Linked DNA regions of Homo sapiens: regions 1, 2, 3 and 5 are each linked to region 4. The links are contacts of gene promoters, found by promoter capture Hi-C in human tissues and cell types (Jung and others, 2019). All regions are on one chromosome and are shown on one strand. Each heading gives the region's core, a stretch centred on a gene start or on the middle of the fragment in contact. The rest is flanking DNA. Distances are from core to core; before and after follow the strand shown. Region 1 holds the start of ZNF124 (zinc finger protein 124). Region 2 overlaps ZNF695 (zinc finger protein 695). Region 3 has its middle 9.5 kb from the start of MIR3916. Region 4 holds the start of ZNF670 (zinc finger protein 670). Region 5 has its middle 24 kb from the start of ZNF124.

What was found. The method cuts DNA at HindIII sites, captures the fragments that hold promoters and counts their contacts. A contact is called where the count stands out against the background at its distance.
Region 1: a contact is called between the fragment with the promoter of ZNF124 here and the fragment with the promoter of ZNF670 in region 4, in 1 of the 25 tissues and cell types used here (hippocampus).
Region 2: a contact is called between a fragment that was not itself captured here and the fragment with the promoter of ZNF670 in region 4, in 3 of the 25 tissues and cell types used here (mesenchymal stem cells, mesendoderm cells and neural progenitor cells).
Region 3: a fragment that was not itself captured here is called in contact with the fragment with the promoter of ZNF670 in region 4 in 2 of the 25 tissues and cell types used here (mesenchymal stem cells and pancreas).
Region 5: a contact is called between a fragment that was not itself captured here and the fragment with the promoter of ZNF670 in region 4, in 2 of the 25 tissues and cell types used here (bladder and spleen).

Annotation. Positions count from the first base shown.
Region 1 is chr1:247,170,573-247,173,272 of GRCh38, forward strand. It overlaps ZNF124 (zinc finger protein 124), which reads right to left and starts at 1,448. Exons shown (of 4, transcript NM_001297568.2): 1 at 1,276-1,448. The coding sequence starts at 1,305. The HindIII fragment of the contact is 9,791 bases long and covers 1-2,700 here.
Region 2 is chr1:246,983,055-246,985,754 of GRCh38, forward strand. It overlaps ZNF695 (zinc finger protein 695), which reads right to left. Exons shown (of 4, transcript NM_020394.5): 4 at 2,269-2,700. The region is part of intron 4 of ZNF670-ZNF695 (ZNF670-ZNF695 readthrough (NMD candidate)); the gene reads right to left. Among named protein-coding and RNA genes, the nearest start is that of ZNF695, 24 kb to the right of the region's middle. The HindIII fragment of the contact is 4,237 bases long and covers 1-2,700 here.
Region 3 is chr1:247,191,252-247,193,951 of GRCh38, forward strand. No RefSeq gene overlaps it. Among named protein-coding and RNA genes, the nearest start is that of MIR3916, 9.5 kb to the right of the region's middle. The HindIII fragment of the contact is 4,662 bases long and covers 1-2,700 here.
Region 4 is chr1:247,077,430-247,080,129 of GRCh38, forward strand. ZNF670 (zinc finger protein 670) reads right to left here and starts at 1,382. Exons shown (of 4, transcript NM_033213.5): 1 at 1,165-1,382. The coding sequence starts at 1,167. ZNF670-ZNF695 (ZNF670-ZNF695 readthrough (NMD candidate)) reads right to left here and starts at 1,382. Exons shown (of 7, transcript NR_037894.2): 1 at 1,165-1,382. RefSeq lists silencers at 1,245-1,558, 1,347-1,416. The HindIII fragment of the contact is 11,562 bases long and covers 1-2,700 here.
Region 5 is chr1:247,146,552-247,149,251 of GRCh38, forward strand. It overlaps a transcript of ZNF124 not described here. Among named protein-coding and RNA genes, the nearest start is that of ZNF124, 24 kb to the right of the region's middle. The HindIII fragment of the contact is 7,827 bases long and covers 1-2,700 here.

The DNA of each region.
Region 1 (2,700 bases), core at 198-2,697, 93 kb after region 4:
GAGTTAAAGAAGGAAGGGCTTCATTCTGCCGGAAGCTTTGGCAAGACTCACGTCTCCAAAAACCCAGCTCCCCAAGTGAGCAATTCCTGTCCCTTTTAAGGGCTTACAACTCTAAGGGGGTCCACGTGAGAGGGTCGTGATCGATTGACCAAGCAGGGGGTACATAACTGGGGGCTGCATGCACCGGCAATCAGAACGGAACAGAACAGGACAGGGATTTTCACAGTGCTTTTCCATACAATGTCTGGAATCTATAGATAACACAACCGGTCAGGTCAAGGGTCAATCTGTAACCAGGCCCAGGACGCGGCGCCGGGCTGTCTGCCTGTGGATTTCATTTCTGCCTTTTAGTTTTTACTTCTTCTTTCTTTGGAGGCAGAAATTGGGCATAAGACAATATGAGGGGTGGTCTCCTCCCTTAAGTGATGATGGTGCCCTGAGTTCCTCACCAAGAAAACCTAAAGGTACTTCATGCCTTTCTTGTAATTAACTTGAAGGGAAAGAAAACTTAACCCCAAATCAGCAATTTACCTCTGATTACATAACCAGGAACCATCCACCTAAATAATCCGAATAACAGAACTACATAATTATAACCAATCAGTTATTAAATTGGGGTTGCTTTGGGCTGGGCGGGGTAATCCCAGCACTTCGGGAGGTTGAGACCAGAAGTTCAAGACCAGCCTGGGCAACACAGGGAGACCCCCCCCCCGCCCCACCCGATCATTAAAATAAAAAATAAATAAATTTGGTTTGTTTCCTTACACACTTTACAGAAGCCTTTCCATCAAGACCGTCCGGTGGCCCACAAACCAAAAACCGTGGCTGGGTGCTCCCCTACTCATGAATCGCTGTTTGCTCAAACTCTGTAACGCTTTAATTAAACCTCAGTTTAATTTTTAACAGGATTAAGGAGGGACTGGAAACGCCAGTGGCCACAGCTCCTCGCAGGCGCGAGCCCGCACACCGCGCTGGGCCTCTCCCCTGAGGCGCCTCGGGTCTCACTGCAGGATCCCGAGGAGCCGCGGGGCTGCGGGCGCGGGCCGGGGAGGGAAGCTGCTTCGGGCAGGACGGAAGTCGCGGTGCAGAGACGGGACCGGAGCCCGGGGTGCCGCTGCCCGCCCAGCTCTGCCGGGCGCCAGAAAGGACCGAGGGCCGCGCCGCGCCGCGCCAGCAGGGACCCGGGTCCGCCCTCGGGAGCCGACCGCTGGGAGCCCGGGGCCCGGGGCCGCCACAGCCCCTTCCCTTCTCCAGACCCCCGGCGGCGCAACTCACCATTTCCCAGCTTCCGGGGTGTCCCGACATCCTCCCTGCGAATCCCCCAGTACATGCAGGTCACAGGAGGGCCCCGGCTGCGGCAGAGCCTCCTGAACCGCCGAGAGTGAAGGAGAAGCGCAGGGCTACTGACCGAGACACGCACGTGCGGGCACGAGAGACAAAGGCCGGGCACACCCGGAAGCCGCCTCGGGTTTTCTAGCGGAGCGCCGGATTAGGCAGTCCCCGCCCCGGTGCCCCTGATTGGGTAGGGCCTCAGGCCCCGCCCCCTCAGACTCTTAGTGACAGGTGACAGCTCCCGCGCGTGTCTGAATGAGGCAGCGTTCTGGCTACAGCTCTTCTCCAAGAGGGTTTCCTCTCTGGGTTGGGACCCAGCCTTGCCTAGGGGACATTCATTTATATACACTTAACCTTGTATACAATGTTACATTCATTTGTGAATAATATATATGATATTTAAAATAGGAAACAATATAATAATAATTCTTTTAAAATTTCAGACTTATTAACCTTCATGGCCTCTGGTCTTCTGAGGAAGCAGTCTGAGGAGCCCGAGTTTTGAAAAGGGAAGCAATCCTCCAAGGCTGCGATTTCCACAGAAATCACATGTGAGCCACAGGTGTCATTTTAAAATTTCTAGTAGCAACAGAAACGAGGAATAAACAGGTAAAATTGATTGCAATACTTTATTTAACTCAATATATACAAAATATTATAATTTAAATATATGATAAATATAATATTAATGAAGTATTTTTTGTTGTTCTGTTTTTTGGTACTAAATCTTTCAAAGTCACTCTGCGTTTTAAACTTCCAGCATGTACCGATTCAGACCAGCCACATTCTAGGTGCTAAGTAGACCCCTGTGGGCAATGACTGTCACACTGAAGTGCAGTTTTGAGGGCTCTGGTTCCCCTGACCTCAGGGAGTGAAGGGCCCGAACCCCTCTTTTCTGCTAGAGGTGAGGGAATGCCCTCCTTCTGCTAACATCTCTCCTCAGGCCCAAGGGTGGCAGAGACAGTGCCCAGAGAGAGAAGTGGGCTGCAATAAAGAAGTATCTAGAGGGAGTCTACTATTTCCCACCTGCTCTTGCCAGGGGCCCAGCCTCTTCTATAGATAAGACAGTGAAAAAAAGATGAGGGGCCCCAGGAGAAGAAAACCCATGTCTTCAGATTTGTCCACAGCCTTAACCTCAGGACTTTAGATGTAGAGGGAATACATTAAAGACAAACTTCTCATTTTGCAATTTGGCTTTGGCCCTAATGGTCAGGCTGTGGTTTTCTGTTTCCTCCTGTGGTGTGGAATTTAAGTGTGTGAGTTTAAGCACAAATCACATGCATGTCTACGTGCACTTCTGTATGGCTCAACACCGTCTAACCAGAAATCCAACTTTACATAAAGGGAAAAGGAAATCAGTACATACAG
Region 2 (2,700 bases), core at 89-2,588, 94 kb before region 4:
TTAGCCGGGTGTGGTGGCGGGCGCCTGCAGTCTCAGCTACTTGGGAGGCTGAGGCAGAAGAATGGCATGAACCTGGGAGGCAGAGCTTGCAGTGAGCCGTGATCGCGCCACTACACTCCAGCCTGGGTGACAGAGCGAGACTCTGTCTCAAAAAAAAAAAAAAAGAATGTGTTGCTTGTAGCTGGGCCACATGGTGGCACATGCCTGTAATGCCAGCACTTTGGGAGGCTGAGGTAGGGGGGTTGCTTGAGCGCAGGAGCTTGAGATCAGCCTGGAAAACACAGTGAGACTTCATTTCTACAAAACAATAAAAAAAATTAGCTGGGCATGGTGGCATGTGGCTGTACTCCTAGCTACCCAGGGAGCTAAGATGAGAGGATAACCTGAGCCTGGGAGGTTGAGACTGCAGTAAGCTATGATCACAATGTCAGTTTTGTAAAATATAAATGACCTCAAACTCTCCAGTTAAAAGTCAATCTATTGGCTGGGCGCAGTGGCTCATGCCTGTAATCCCAGCACTTTGAGAGGCTGAGGTGGGTGGATCACCTCAGGTGAGGAGTTCAAGACCAGCCTGGCCAACATGATGAACCCCATCTTTACTAAAAATACAAAAATTAGCCAGGCATGGTGGTGCGTGCCTGTAATCGCAGCTACTTGGCAGACCAAGGCAAGAGACTTGATTGAACCCAGGAGGTGGAAGTTGCAGTGAGCCAAGATTGCACCACTGCACTCCAGCCTGGGTGACAGGGTGAGACTCAGTCTCAAAACAAACAAACAAACAAACAAAAATCTATCATCACATTAAAAAATTTCAAATTTCCAGGCCAGGTGTGGCTCATACCTATAATCCCAGCACTTTAGGAGGCCAAGGCAGGTCAGTCACTAGAGCTTAGGAGTTCAAGACAAGCCTGGGAACATGGTAAAACCTCATCTCTACTAAAAAAAGAATTAGCTAGGAGTGGGGGTGCACACTTCTAGTCCCAGCTACTCAGGGGGCTGAGGTGGGATGATTGCTTGAGTCTGGGAGGCAGAGGTTGCAGTAATCCGAGATTACACCAGTGCACACCAGCCTGGGTGACACAGTGAGACCATGTCTCCAAAAAAAAAAAAAAAAAAGAAGAAGAAAAAGAGAAAGTCCAAATTTCCTGTTAGAATGTACAAAGTACTATATAAGATGACATATTGTGTGGAGAACAGTGAGAAAGTGTAGCCATAACACAGGTTTTAAAAAAAAAAAAAAAAAAAAGGAGGAGAGCTGGAATGCATAAGTAGTTGAGAAGAAAGAAAAAGAGACCACAAAAAAACAGAGATAATTTGGAAATAAAAGCAGAATTCCTCTTCAGAGAGAGTCAGTTGTGCAGCCTGGGTAGAGAAGTCCTTTCTCTGCATGCAGAATCAATGCCAGGTCTTCATCCTGGATATTTCCAATCTCTTACCTGGAGCCACAACTTCACTCCAAAAAGAATATTTATTGTTAATTATGGAACATCTACTACACATCTGGCACTGCGTTATGTTTCTTCACTTCATTTATATGCCAAATAGCCCTATGACTTATAAAGCCTCCAAAGTGTTTATCTGAACAAATTGCCCAATAGAGTCAATAAACTCAATTACTCAATTAAGTGAAAGAAACAATAACAAAAAAAGTTGGCTCGAATAGTGTTCTCTAATAATGGAAAAATGGAAATGTACTAATTAAGTACAATGAAAATTAATACACTCACTGTGGAATTATTCACATCTTCAGATTATTTTTTAAGCACCAATAAGTTTCATAAAATCATTATTATAATCCCTGAGAAGATCACATAAGAAATTCTTCATGAATTTTGGAACAAGAAAATTATACGTTAGCTCTAGCATGAGCAACATAAAAGTAAAAACAGGAATTTCATGTGGAAATTCTGCAAAATAAGATTTTAGAGAAATGCCTTCAATACAAAGCAGAGAAAACAGATTTGCCTTCGACATTTTTGAGGTTTCTAGTTTGCTAATAAATTATCCATACTTTTGAAATTATGTTTGGTTCCAACATTTTTCTCTTATTCTGAAAACAGGTATGCACTTACTTCAAACACATTACTTGCTTCATAACTGTCTTACACCTAACATTTATCCTTAGAGTAGTATATTTATGTATTTATCTCCATGTAAACCAAAACTAAAAGCATGTATATGTTTTGCAGGCCAGAAAAGCCACATGTTAAAAGGAAAATGTAAATAAAATTTTGTGAATAGTCCTTCAAGATTCAGAAATACACGGTCTTTGATTATAATCCTATATAGGCTTTATTATAGCCTTAATAATGACACTGTCATTACAAAAAGAGCAAACAGAATGAAGGTGTAACGTGTGGGAACAATATTTTTCAAATTATTTGAAGTTTAATGCCACTGGGAGAAGGGATCATTAGAGATACTATTCCACCATGTTACCCACTATTGTATTGTTACCATTTGTTACCTACAACCGTAACTAAGGTGAGATAGGTTAACGTTGGTGGTAGGATACGCATCACTTAATGTACAACGGTCCAAAGACATTAAAACAATGTCTTATTAAAACAAATTAAGTTCAAACAGTCTAAAAAGAGCATTTCAAAATCCACTGAATTTTATTACCTTAATGTGCAATAGGAAAAACAACTGACTTGTAAAACTCAAATGTTTCTTTCTTAAATATAATGCAGAATAGTA
Region 3 (2,700 bases), core at 68-2,567, 110 kb after region 4:
TTACCCACCACAACTCTTTCTTCTCCTAAACACAGCATAATGACTTCAGGAATAAACTCCCAACTCCTAGCTTCTCCTTCAATAGAGACAGTAGTGGCACATATGCCCATACTTTTGATGGAATTTCCAAAGACTAGTTTCTGTCTCCCATGACACAAAGTGCTGAAAGGAATAGTGGTAGAATAGAACCAACCTTTAATTCAAAGGTTGGTTCTGCTGAGACCAAAGGTAAATAATTGTTATAGCAGCAGAGAGGCTGCAGTACTACAGACAGACAACAGATTTAGCAAATAATTGATTAGAGAAGAAGAAAGAAAGAAGAAACAAGGGTAAACCTCTTTAACTGGAAATTAAACACAAAATTCCAGAGAACATACATCCTGAGAATAGGTTTGAGAGGCTCATGGAAACCCTAGCCCAAGTCACTTGGTATCAGATTATCCAGGACAAAGCCATTTTATAAAGATTTTGACAGATGGCTTTTAGTGCCCAAATCTCAACCAAAGATTGCAACATATACATTAGGGTAACATGGCTCAATCAAAAAAAAAATAAATAAATAAATAAATAAATAAATAAATAAATAAATAAATATCCAGAAATCAACCCTAAAGAAATGGAGATGTATAAGTTACCTGAAAAATCTGAGATAACCATTTGAATAATGCCCAATGAGTAAAACAGGAAAACAGACATGAAATTAAGAAAATGAGAAACCCTGACAAATTCTCAAATGTAAAAAAAAAAAATTAAGAAGCTCAACACATTTCAAATAGGATAAACACAAACAGACACATAACAAGATACATTATAAGCAGTTTCAAAAAATTACAGATGAGAAGAGAATCTCAAAAACAGAAAGGGAAAAGCAATGTGTCATCTATAAGCATGCTTCTATGAGATTACCAGAGCATAGTTGTTTCATATACCATCATTCTAGTACTATAGAATTTTATTTTTGTGTATGTGATCACGGGGCACACAGAGAAAATAGGAAACCTGCCCTACTTGAAGAAACAAATCTCCAGAAACTGACCCTTAAAAAAGGGAGATTTTTGCATTTTTTTGACAAAGAATTTAAAGTAATCATCTTAAACATGTTCAATGACCAAAAGTAGAACACATATAGATAACTCTACAAAATCAGGTTGGGCATGGTGACAAGAGCATTATGGTTTACATAAAGTAAAATACTCTCCTTGTTGTTCATTTAAAAATAAATCCTGGCTATGTACAGAAGCTCACACCTGGAATTCCAGCATTTTGGAAGGCTGAGGTGGGAGAACTGCTTGAGACCGAGTTCAAGACCAGCTTGAGTAACACGGTGAGACTGTCTCTACAATTTTTTTTTTTAAATTAGCCAGGCATGGTGGTATATGCCTATAGTCCCAGCTACTTAGAAGGCTGAGGTGGAAGGATCACTTGAGCTGAGGAGTTTGAAGCTACAGTGAGCTATGATCATACCGCTACACACCACCAGCCTGGATGAGAGAGTGAAACCCTGTTTATAAAAAAAAAAAAAACAAAAAAAAAAAAACAGAAAACCATGCATGAGGAAAATAATACATCAACAAAGAGATTTTAAAAAAAAAAAACCTATAAAAAAGAACCCAACTAAGCTTGGTGTGGTGGCTCACGCCTGTAATCCCAGCACTTTGGGAGGTTGAGGCAGGTGAATTACGAGGTCAGGAGGTCGAGACCAGCCTGGCCAACATGGTGAAACCCCGTCTCTACTAAAAATACAAAAAATTAGCCGGGCGTAATGGCGGGTACCTGTAATCTCAGCTACTCAGGAGGATGAGGCAGGAGAATTGCTTGAACCTGGGATGCAGAGGTTGCAGTGAGCCAAGATCACTCCACTGCACTCCAGCCTGGGCAACAGAGCAAGACTCTGCCCCCAACAAAAAAAAAAAAAAAAAAAAAAAAAAAAAACCCAACTAAAATTGTTGAGCTGGAAAATACACTGTGTTGAAAAATTAACTGAAGAGCCAAAACAGCAGACTTAATGAGGCAGAAAAAACATCAGCAAATTGAAGACATATCATTTATAAATATTGAGTTGTGGAAGCAAAATTTTAAAAATGGAAAACAATGAAGATGGAATATTGGACTTAATAGAAACCATTCAGTAGACCAATATATCCATAAAAAGAGACTTAGAAGATATAGGTGAAAAGCGGTAAGTTATTTAAAAAAAAAAAAAGGGGAGGGGGGCTGAGAACTTCTAAACTTTCAATGAGATAAAACCAAAATATTACTAAGGATACTTGATGTAAAAAAAATTTACTTTCAAAAATAAGTGAAAAATAGACTTCCAAGATAAACAAAAGCTGAGAATGTTTGCTGCTACTAGTACAGTCCTACAAGAAATGATAAAAGCAGTCCATTATGTTGAACAATAAAATGATGCTGGAGAACATCATAAATTCATATGAAAATATAAAGCTGTTAAAGGTAAATATATACACAGATATAGACTTGTCCAATGTTACATAAAACCAAAAACTCTGCAGAATGTGAAAAACAACGTAAATCTCTGTAAATCTATTAATAAATGCACAATATAAAATGATATAATTTTTGACATTAATATCAAATGGGGGGATATAAAGATAAATAGTTCTTATACTCAATTGTAGGGAAGTTATGAGATAGATTATTAGAACTTTAAGAAGTTTTATGAACTGTCCATTTCTCAAG
Region 4 (2,700 bases), core at 132-2,631:
GAACTTCACCCCAAAGATACTCTGGTAAGATGTGCACACTCAAAAAAGATAAAATTAGGAGATGCACAAAGACTTTTTTTTTCTACAATTAACTGTCAGGTGATTATTTTCTGCTTTCCACTCATGTGTAATGTTCAGAAATATTTTAAGAGTGAAAACAAATATTTTCAGAACGACTCACTACTCTGAAAAAAATAACACACTTCATCTGTATGAAATGTACAATAAAAGACAAATACTTGATAATGTTGCATTTGAATATAGGAAAAGAATTGGAAATTTAGGGTTTTACTACAAGCCCCAGAAGAGTTAGGCTGTGGGAACAGGGTCGTTGATGTGAGATCCTGTTGCCATACACTTAGAAATGTGGAGTGTTATGTGAAAATAATTAAACACAGGCACTAGGGAGACTGAGGTGGGGGGATCGCTTGAGCCCGAGTCCAAGACTCCATCATACACATGTACATACACACATGAATGAATAAACAACCAACCAAAACGTAACTCATGCTTGTCTTGTAAATTAATAACTTAAAGGGAAACAAAACAGCCTTAAACAACCACGAACCCACCAATTAACCTCTGGTTACATAACCAGGAGATATCTGGCTGCACAGTCTATATGGGGTGACTACATAACTGTACACGATCAATTATTTAATTGGGTTTGCTTCCTCGGGTTCCTTACAAAAAACCCTTTCCTTCCCCAAACCACAAACCACGCTGGTGGCTTCCTAACTCACGACTCTCTGCTCAAATAAACTCCTTAATATTTTAACGGCGCCTCAGTTTTCTTTCTAACAGGAGAAAGGAGGATTTGGAGACTTCACAGACCACAGCTCCTCCCACGCAGGAACCCCGAACCCCAAGTCGGGACTCTCCCCTGAGGACCCTCCCGTCGGCACCGCACGATCCGAGGGAGATGCGGGTCTACAGAGGCAGAGCTGCCCAGAAAGGGTTCCGGGCCTGGCCGAAGCGGCGGGGCAGGGACAAGCCAGGCGGCCCGGGGTCTGGCTGCGGGTCCAGCCCCGCATCCTGTGCCACTAAGGCCGCGAGGCGCCGGCGGAAACTCGGGTCGGCACCGCGGGGAGGTCCGGGTTCGCCACAACCGCTTCCTGGCGGTTCCCTTTTCCCCTTCCCGAGACACCTGGCCGGCACACTCACCATTTCCCAGTCTCCGGTGTCTGGGGTCCTCCCTAAGGACCTTCCGGGACCTGCAGGTCCCAGAGCAACAGAAGCTGCCGCGGGACCACTTGGACCTCCCAGGGATAAGGGGAAGGAGCAGCGGAGACGCACCGAGCTCGCCACATTCGCGCTGCCCAACACAAAAGCCGCGCCAGGTCCCGGAAGCTGCTCCCTCCTTTCGCGGCGCGCTTGAGAGTACAGTCCCCTTCCCAGCGCCCGATTGGACAGGGCCTTAGGCCCCGCCCCTTCAGTCCTGAGTGACGGGAGATGCAATCAGACACGGCGCTGAGTGAGGCCAGGTTCTTTCCCTGCAGTCCTTTTCTAAGGCATGGATTCTGCCCTGTGCTGAGACCTGGCGCCCCCCGGGGGACTTTCCCATTCAAGCTCATACACAGGATTATGTCCATTTATGAGTAATATTTGTGATATTTACAATTGGAAACACTATGATGACAATTATTCTAAAATTTCAGATTTCACAACCTTCCTGGCCTCTGGTCTTTTGAGGAGGCAGCCTGAATTTTTTTTTTTTTCTTGCTTCTAGTGGGATTAGAGGCAGCTTGAATTTTGAAAAGACAATGTCCTCTCAGGTAGCAACGCCCCATAGAAATAAAATGTGAGCCGCGTGTGTTCCAGTAGCAATAGAAAAGAAAACAACACGTGAAATTGATTACAATGATTTATTTAACCAAATATATCCAAAAATATTGTTTCAATATATGATCGATGTTAAGCTCGCGCCTAATTGAAGAGACTACCCAAACAGGTTAAGTGTGAGCAGCAAGGCTAGTTTACTCACTCGGGTGCGAGCGGGCTGAGTCCGAAAAGAGGGTCAGCGGAGGGTCGTGGGATTGGAGTTAGTTTTATAGGTGAGGGGTAAGCAGTGGAAAGTTACAGTCAGGGGCCGTTTATTACCGGCGGGGGAAGAATGTCACAAAGTACATTGTCACAAGAGGGAGGGGTCACAGTGTCACTAGGCTGATTGATCAGTTAGGGTAGTGCACGTCACAACGGTAAAATGCTGCAAGGTTGGCTAATCAGCTAAGACAGAAACTAGCCGTTTTTCTTCCTTTGTGGTTTTCCTGTTGTCCCAGACTTTCTGGCTCCAGGACCTTCTGGATGTACACGTGTGGGTCACAGGGATCACAATGGCTTGACCATGGCGCAGCCTGCTCAGACGGCCTTACAATCGATATATTATTAATGAAAAATCACTCTATATATTAAGCTTCCAGCATGTTTCAATTCAGCCTGCACATTTGGATACACGTGTCTGGTTTTACCACTTTATTTTAAGGTTGTTCGGGAATGTCTGCCTGTTCCTTTCATGTAACTGTTCATTATTTATTGATTACTATTTCTTAATTTCACTTATCTCAGTGAGAGTTGCCAAATAGTGGTTTTCTAATTATTTTCTCTACAGGTATTAGTTCTCATTCTTCTATTAAAAATGGCGTTTTCTCATGAACTCTCTCCATTACATTAAAACCTACCCTATTAGGAAAGGAAGAATAA
Region 5 (2,700 bases), core at 133-2,632, 69 kb after region 4:
AGAATATCTTTAGGTGCAGGCTCTTTTTGTCAAAGGCCTCAAATGGCAAAGTGATCAAGTTTTTCTTGACTGCTGGAAGAATTAAGCAATGAAAATATGTCCACTTAGCTTCACTAAACCTTATTTGGAAAGCAGAACTCTGGGTTTTTTTCAGGTCTTCTTGTTATTGAGAAAACAGTGCTTACTATCCAATGTGCTAAGAGCCAATACATTGAGTTGTCACTGGATTTTTGTTTTTGAGACAAGCTTTATGTTGAAAGTTCACTCCCAAAGAGACAGGAGTCCCAAGCCCGAATCTGTCTCCCTCTGCTGGCATCAAGGCAGAATTTCTACTAGAACAGGTACCGGGGGGTAGCTTCTGAGGTTAGGAGGTGACTAGCGGATGATAATGGGAGGTCTGGAATGTCCATGGGCATGCCCAGTTATCTCTTCATGCTTCCTCATGGGTCATATGTGCAAATTTGGGGGGAGTTAGTAGGAAACATAGTGGAAATTCAGGCTATGATGTCAGCAAGCTCATTCTGTGCAGAGTCCCATTGGTTCTATTGGTTTAAACCAATTTCAGCTAATTACTTTTATCTCGTAAGTGGAGGGAATTTCAGTGTTTTAGCAAGTTTTTTTTTTTTTTAATTTGCCATCCTGTAAACTCAAGGATTTCTGTTAGTCATTGGCTTAACTTTTTTTTTTTTTTTTGAGTCGGGGTCTTGCTCTGTTGCCCAGGCTGGAGTCCAGTGGCACGATCTCAGCCCACTGCAACCTCCGCTTCCTGGGTTCAAGCCATTCTCCTGCCTCAGCCTCCAGAGTAGCTGGGATTACAGGCATGCACCACCATGCCTGGCTAATTTTTGTATTTTTATTAGAGATGGGGTTTCACCATATTGGCCAGGCTGGTCTCGAACTCCTGACCTCGTGATCCACACGGCTCGGCCTCCCAAAGTGCTGAGATTACAGGCGTGAGCCACTGCGCCTGGCTGCTTCTTTAACTTTTTGAAGCACAGTCTCAATTATCAGCTACATCTACTAGCAGAGAGATATTACTATTCTAGACAGGAGCACTGAGACAGACACCTCTGTCTTTGCAGCTAACAGCTCATGCAGGGTGAACATTTTGCATATCAGAGTGTAAAGGTTCTCATGATAAAGACTGACCTGCCCTCTGTGGCAAATGGAGAATTCTGTCTCTCTCACACTCTTCTACCTGTCTCCCACCCAGACTGGAATAATCCCCTCCGGCACTTAGGGGACAGGGAAGCACAAACACATACAACAAAATTCTAACTGTAAATTTTGGTGTAGAAACACAAGAAGACATTGAGTTAGCCCCAAAGGCCCCACCTCCATTGTTTTGTGACATTTCTGCTTTCATGGTGAACCCTGCCCAAGCCCTGTCAGTGAAGTTTTGGTATCAGCGAGTACATAGAGAGAGAGAGATTCTCTGCTTATAAGCAAGGCACCAACACCCACATTTCCTTTTAGTTTCTAGCAGCCTGTTGACTGCTTTCAGCAAAACCACAAGAACTTACAGTATTTTCTATTTATCCAAAGTGCTCTATCAGCTTTGTGGACTCCTCATTCTTTCCTACTTTGGCTAGGAGAATGAACATATGAGCACATTTAGACTGCTCCTTTCAATTCTCCCTCTCACACAACAACCTCGCTAACAGGTTGGCGAGTGGAGGGATCTTACTCTTACTCAACTCTCATTTGGGTAAGAGAATTTGCTACTTGTTCCAGGAAGCCTTCTCATAAGCCCTGGCCAGGTCTGTGAAGAATCTTTCTACTTTCCTCTTATACCAGGTTATAAGGTTATAGATTTATCAGAATCAATCGCATCATCACCCAAGCTGTCAAAAATGTGAACATTCGTGGATTTTTTTCTATTTGCAAGCCAAAAAATGAAGACTGTCAACTTCATGGATATTAGAAGAAGGCATGAGATTCCTAGGCCTGATGAAAAATATTTGATGGTTCATCACACAAATGGAAGCAAGAGCTCCATATCTGTATCTGTTCCCCACGTCCACTCCAAGTGACAGGGATGATCAAAGAGACCCAACTGGATGCTTTCTGCTCAGTAGATTTTGATCACAGCTGAGGAATCTCAAGGTTAAGAAATCCCAGTGCTTTGGCAGGGCACGGTGGCTCACGCCTGTAATCCCAGCACTTTTGGAGGCCGAGGCGGGCAGATCACGAGGTCAGGAGATTGAGACCATCCTGGCTAACACGGTGAAACCCCGTCTCTACTAAAAATACAAAAAAAAAAAGAAAATTAGCCAGGTGTGGTGGCGGGTACCTGTAGGCCCAGCTACTCTGGAGGCTGAGGCAGGAGAATGGCGTGAACCCAGGAGGTGGAGCTTGCAGTGAGCCGAAATTGTGCCACTGCACTCCAGCCTGGGTGACAGAGTGAGACTCCGTCTCAAAAAAAAGAAAAAAAAAACAAATCCCAGTGCTTTAACATGTGTTTCAAAGAAAACCTTCCAACCACTGCCTCAGAGAAAGGCATAATCTTTATTAAATTGTCCAGGTATTTATTTGGCCTTTGACCTGAAGATACACATCCTTCAAGTCTGTTTCTTTCATTTAAAAAAATCCTGAAAAAGACAGCCCAGAAGAAACGCTTATACAAGATGTGGGAAAATGAAGTGAGAGATCCATGAAGAATTGTCTTCCAAAAGGGAGCAACATTCCCTTACATGTATG